Linked DNA regions of Homo sapiens: region 2 is linked to region 1. The links are contacts of gene promoters, found by promoter capture Hi-C in human tissues and cell types (Jung and others, 2019). All regions are on one chromosome and are shown on one strand. The core of a region is centred on a gene start or on the middle of the fragment in contact, and the rest is flanking DNA. Distances in the headings are between cores, read along the strand shown.

Region 1 (2,700 bases), core at 8-2,507:
GGGGTGGGGGGAGTCACTTGGTTCCCTACATTGATGTCAGCGCCTCCTGGGAAATCGCCTTCTCACCTCTCCTGGGCCTAAAATAGAGCGGGGGGTGGGGGTGTCACAAGCTAGAGGCAGTTCCCTCATCCCCAGCAGAGGCCCTGGGTCCTTGCGGAAGCAGAGGACCCAGGAAGGGGTTTCCTGCCTCCAATCTTGTTCTTCAGCAACCTGTGGTCCCCTAGCATGGGTACCAAAAAGGTCAGGGTGGGGACTCAGCGGCCCACCCACCATGCCCTACCACACCCCACACCATCTCAGGTATCTGGCCTTCAGCACCCCTAGCAGAAGTCTGAGGTCCCAGCCCTGGTATTGGGACCCAACATCCCCAGGAGCTGGGTGGAGGGCACAGCTGGGAATGTAGGTTGGGAGGTCAAGTATTTTGCAGACAGGGCAGCCTAGTCTGACCAGAGAGGGAATGCTGGGGGGCTCCAGAGGTGTCTTCTGCTCCTAAGGATTGGGACTAGCAAGGGAGGGGGAGCCATGGGGCATGCTAGCAGCATATAAGTGACCTGGCTAGTTTATATTTTATCTAGGAGGAAGGACAGGACGCCTGTGAGAGACTCAGGAACCCAGACGGACATGCCAGCCCTTCCTGATGGTTGGAGTGACAGCGATCCCTGAAGCCCTCCTGGAGGCCGGGGCATCTTTGGCGGGGAGAAGGAGCCGATGGGAAGGGGTCTGTACCGCGGGCGTGAGAGGACTCCGCAGTGACACGACCCGTAGCGAAGGTGCAAGAAATCCCAGAGGCGTAGAGCCCGGCGTTCGCCAAGAGCCTTTGCCCACCCCAACCCCAGCTTCCACAGCCTGGGGTCAAGCGGGGCGCTCCAAGCTGGGGCTGGGGCAGCCTCTCTGGGGTACCACGACAGAGGGGCGAACGTGGGCGCCGCAGCCACGCCCCTGCCCCCGGGCCCCAGACAGGCAGTCGCCGGGTCGACCCCGGGGGTACCCCGTCCCCTGCTTCCCTCCCCTACAAATCTACGAGTCCTCGGAGATGCTCAGGCAGAGGTGGCCGAGGAGAGGCCGCGGGATAAGTACGCGGAGCGCCACCGCCCCGCACCTGCCGAGGAGACTTCGAGGTGCGAGGAGGGACCCCGGGGCGGCGCCTCTTTTGTCCTGCCGCGGCGGCGGCCCGGGCCCTGCGGGGCTGGGGGGGCCGGGGGGCGGCGGGAGAGCGGAGGGCGGGCCCTGGGCTCACGTGCTCGCTGCTCAGCTCTTAACCCGGCCCCGCCGCCCCGCCGGGATGGCCGCGGCCGGAGCGCGCTGAGCCCCGGCGCCGTCCCTGCCGCCCCCACCTCTCCGCGACCCCCGCCCGGCCCCGCGCCCCCGCCCCGGCTCCGCAGCTGGCGCCTCCCCACCCCCGTCCCTGCTCCCGCCCTCCCCGCGCCGCTGGCAGCCGCAGCCCCCGGACCGGGAGGAATGAGCGAGCCATGAGGCTGCTGCGGCGCTGGGCGTTCGCGGCTCTGCTGCTGTCGCTGCTCCCCACGCCCGGTGAGTGACCCCCGCCCGGCCCCGGCGCCCCCTCCCTGCCCCCGCCCCGGGATGTGCGGCGCTTGCTGCTGCAGCCACCTTTTCCTGCAGTGCTCGGGGTGACAGCCGGTCCGGAGCGCGGGAGGGTAGGGGAGCGGGAGAGGAGGGAAGGTGCGTCCACCCACCTGTCCCCAGCTGGCCGGGCCCACCGCGTCCCTGCCCCTGCCGCCGACCGGCCAGCTCTGCAGGTCTCTGCGGGTTTGGGCGGATGGGGGGGCAGTCGTGACGGTTGGGCGGGAGTGAAGCTCCTGGCCCCCTCCCCGCGGGCTCTTGCCTCTGCAGGGCAGCCAGATCCTCCCACCCGGATCGCCCTAGGGCTCCAGGGGCCACACCAGAGTGGGGGATGAGGCATGCCCACCCCATTCCCAAGTCTTCTGCCCCAGGGTGGGCAGCTGCCTGCAGCCATGGCCTTGTTTCCCCAGGTCTTGGGACCCAAGGTCCTGCTGGAGCTCTGCGATGGGGGGGCTTACCCCAGCTGGGAGGCCCAGGAGCCCCTGAGGTCACGGAACCCAGCCGTCTGGTTAGGGAGAGCTCCGGGGGAGAGGTCCGAAAGCAGCAGCTGGACACAAGGGTCCGCCAGGAGCCACCAGGGGGCCCGGTGAGTGGGGCTGGGTGGTGAGGCCAGGGGCTGAAGCAGGCCTCAGAGCCCCAGGAAGCCCACGGGGTAACCAGGGTTGGAGTCCCCCTCAGCAGCTGCCCCGCAGGGTCCCCTTCTGTACAGTGGGCTATCCGGTGGGTGCTGGAGCCCACTGGTGGGGAGCACCAGGCCTGCCCAGCCCCAGGGCCCCCTTCCATTATTGTAGGGTCCCCTGCCCTCAGTGTACAGGGACCACTAATGCCTAGGTCTCAGGTCTGCTTTGGGTCAGCCTTCCAATGGCCCCCTGCTCTGCTCTGGCCAAAGCTAGTTGTTCTGTTCAAAACAGGGCTTGGATGGGGCAAGTTGGGGGCAGGGAGAGGCAGCCCAGATTCCAGTCAGGGATTAGGGCTCTCAGGTTCTCACCACAGCCACCTTAGTGGGCTTTCTTGGAACAACTTAGTGCTTGCTCCTGCCTCAGTTTCCACACAGTGCCCAGATAGGCTTGTTGTTCTTCCTGTCCTGGCTGAAGGTGGGGCCTTGGAAAATAACTTGAG
Region 2 (2,700 bases), core at 131-2,630, 140 kb after region 1:
TAGTTGAGACTGAAACCATATGGCTCACAAAGCCTAAAATATTATCCAGTCCTTAATAGAAAAAGTTTGCCAACCTCTCCCTCACCATGTGTAATTCCTACAAACAAGAACATTCTCCTACATAACCACAATACAACCATCAAAATCAGAAAATTGATATTCACACATTACTACCACCTTCTTTACAGATCCCATTCAAGTTTCACAGATTGTTCCAATAATACCTTACACACCTAAGGATCCAATCCAGGATCATGTTTGCATTTGGTTGTCATGTCTCTAGTCTCTTTGGATCTACAATCTTCAGTCTTTGGATCTACAATCTTCAGTCTTTCCTTCCAAGGACTGTCATGAAATCCTTAAGGATGTCCCTTGATTTGAGGTTGTCTGATGTTACCTTATGATAATATTCAGGTTATGCGTTTTGGGCAGGAATATCATAGAAGTGATGCTGTGTTCTTCTCAATGCATTTCGTATCAGGTGATACATGATTTCAATTTGCCCCATTAGTGGTAACGTTAACTTTGATCACTTCATTAAGGTGATGTTTGCCAGGCCTCTCCATTGTAAAGTTACTCATTTTCCCTTTGTAATTAAGTAGTGTTTTGTGGGTTTTCTCCACTTCAATTACTGAAATTCTATTCAAAGAAACAGTTCAAATGCCACCACCTCCTTCAAGCTTTCCTAGCTCCTCAATTTCTCATTCCTCTATCCTACTAGAGCTTTTTGCACCTTTATCAGTATTTAATTTTGTCTTAAATAGTAGTTAACTGGCTGGGCACAGTGGCTCATGCCTGTAATCCCAGCACTTTGGCAGGCCAAGATGGGCGGATCATGAGGTCAGGAGATAGAGACCATCCTGGCTAACACAGTGAAACCCCGTCTCTACTAAAAATACAAAAAATTAGCCAGGTGTGGTGGCACACACCTGTAGTCCCAGCTACTCAGCAGGCTGAGGCAGGAGAATCACTTGAATCCAGGAGGCAGAGGTTGCAGTGAGCTGAGATCGCACCACTGCACTTCAGCCTGGCTGACAGAGTGAGACTCCGTCTCGAAAAAAATAAACAAAATAAATAAACAAATAGTAGTTACTAATTACCATCACCAACTATAGTTTATAAGCAATAAATAACAGACTAGAGCATCAGGGCTCTGGAGTTGGAAGACTTAGATTCAAATCCCAACTTTGTCACCAACAACTATGTAACTTGAGGTAAGTTACTTCATCTCTTCCAACCTGATTCCTATTCTTCAACTGGAAAATGGAATGAATAATCCTCACTGAATAAATGGTTATGAGGATTAAATAAAACACCCTGTGTAAAGAATTTACCAGAGTCCAGCTGGGTGCAGTGGCTCACGCCTGTAATCCCAGCACTTTGGGAGGCTGAGGTGGGTGGATCACGAGGTCAGGAGATCGAGACCATCCTGGCTAACACGGTGAAACCCTGTCTCTACTAAAAATACAAAAAATTAGCCAAGTGTGGTGGTGGGCGCCCGTAGTCCCAGCTACTGGGGAGGCTGAGGCAGGAGAATGGTGTGAACCCAGGAGGCGGAGCTTGCAGTGAGCGGAGACAGCGCCACTGCACTCCAGCCTGGGTGACAGAGAGAGACTCCGTCTCAAAAAAAAAAAAAAAAAAAAAGAATTTACCAGAGTCCTAGGCTCAATAAACGTTAGCTAGCATTATTTTTTGCCATCCTTGATCATGAGAACCCTGTGTTCCATGCACCTGCTTCTTCTCTTCACTTCTTTTATGATACTAAATTTAATTTTAAAATAATACCAAAAAGTGGCAAGAACAGTACAAATAACTTTCTTTTCCCCAAATATTTGACAGTATGCTGCTGACACAATGCCTCTTCACCTCCTAATACTTTAGAGCAAGAGTTGACAAACTCTGACCTGTGGCCAAATCTGGCCCCTCCAACTGTTTTTGCATGGTCCTCCAGCTAAGAATGCATTTTACATTTTTATTTTTTTATTTTTTTGAGACGGAGTCCCGCTCTGTTGCCTAGGCTGGAGTGCAGTGGCACGATCTCGACTCACTGCAACCTCCGCCTCACAGGTTCAAGCGATTCTCCTGCCTCAACCTCCCAAGTAGCTGGGATTACAGGCACCCGCCATCACACTTGGCTAATTTTTGTATTTTTAGTAGAGACGGGGTTTCAACCATGTTGGCCAGGCAGTCTCGAACTCTTGACCTCAGGTGATTAGCCCACCTCGGCCTCCCAAAGTGCTGAGATTACAGGTGTGAGCCACCGCACCCGGCCACATTTTACATTTTTAAATAATTGAGAAAAAAGTACCAATGCTAACACAGCCAATAGCCAAGACAGCACCTTGCATAAGTAGGAACTGGATAAATGTTAACTGAATGGGATGTTTAATTTTAAGATGCTGATATTTCTTGGATTAGACTGATACCTCCAACTCCCTCAATGCCACCTGCTGGGTGCTGAATGTAGAGAGAGAATTGGAGCTCCAAGGACCAATAATTAAATGTAAATTATTATGGAAACTTTCACATGCATATTCTTTTTACTTCTAAAAAGCTACTATCGCATTTATGCTTATCTCATTCTCCCAAGACCCCAGTCAAGGGATTGAAGAAATTATTTATTTATTTTATATATATTTTTTGAGACAGAGTTTTGCTCTTGTTGCCCAGGCTGGAGTACAACGGCACGATCTCAGTTCA

What was found. Contacts are between HindIII fragments. The study calls those that stand out against the background at their distance.
Region 2: a fragment that was not itself captured here is called in contact with the fragment with the promoter of ADAM11 in region 1 in 2 of the 25 tissues and cell types used here (H1 embryonic stem cells and lymphoblastoid cells).

What each region holds. Positions count from the first base shown.
Region 1 is chr17:44,757,731-44,760,430 of GRCh38, forward strand. ADAM11 (ADAM metallopeptidase domain 11) reads left to right here and starts at 1,258. Exons shown (of 27, transcript NM_002390.6): 1 at 1,258-1,530; 2 at 1,992-2,167. The coding sequence starts at 1,470. RefSeq lists an enhancer at 899-1,450. The HindIII fragment of the contact is 11,776 bases long and covers 1-2,700 here.
Region 2 is chr17:44,895,593-44,898,292 of GRCh38, forward strand. All of the region lies in intron 1 of EFTUD2 (elongation factor Tu GTP binding domain containing 2), which reads right to left. Among named protein-coding and RNA genes, the nearest start is that of EFTUD2, 2.5 kb to the right of the region's middle. The HindIII fragment of the contact is 4,028 bases long and covers 1-2,700 here.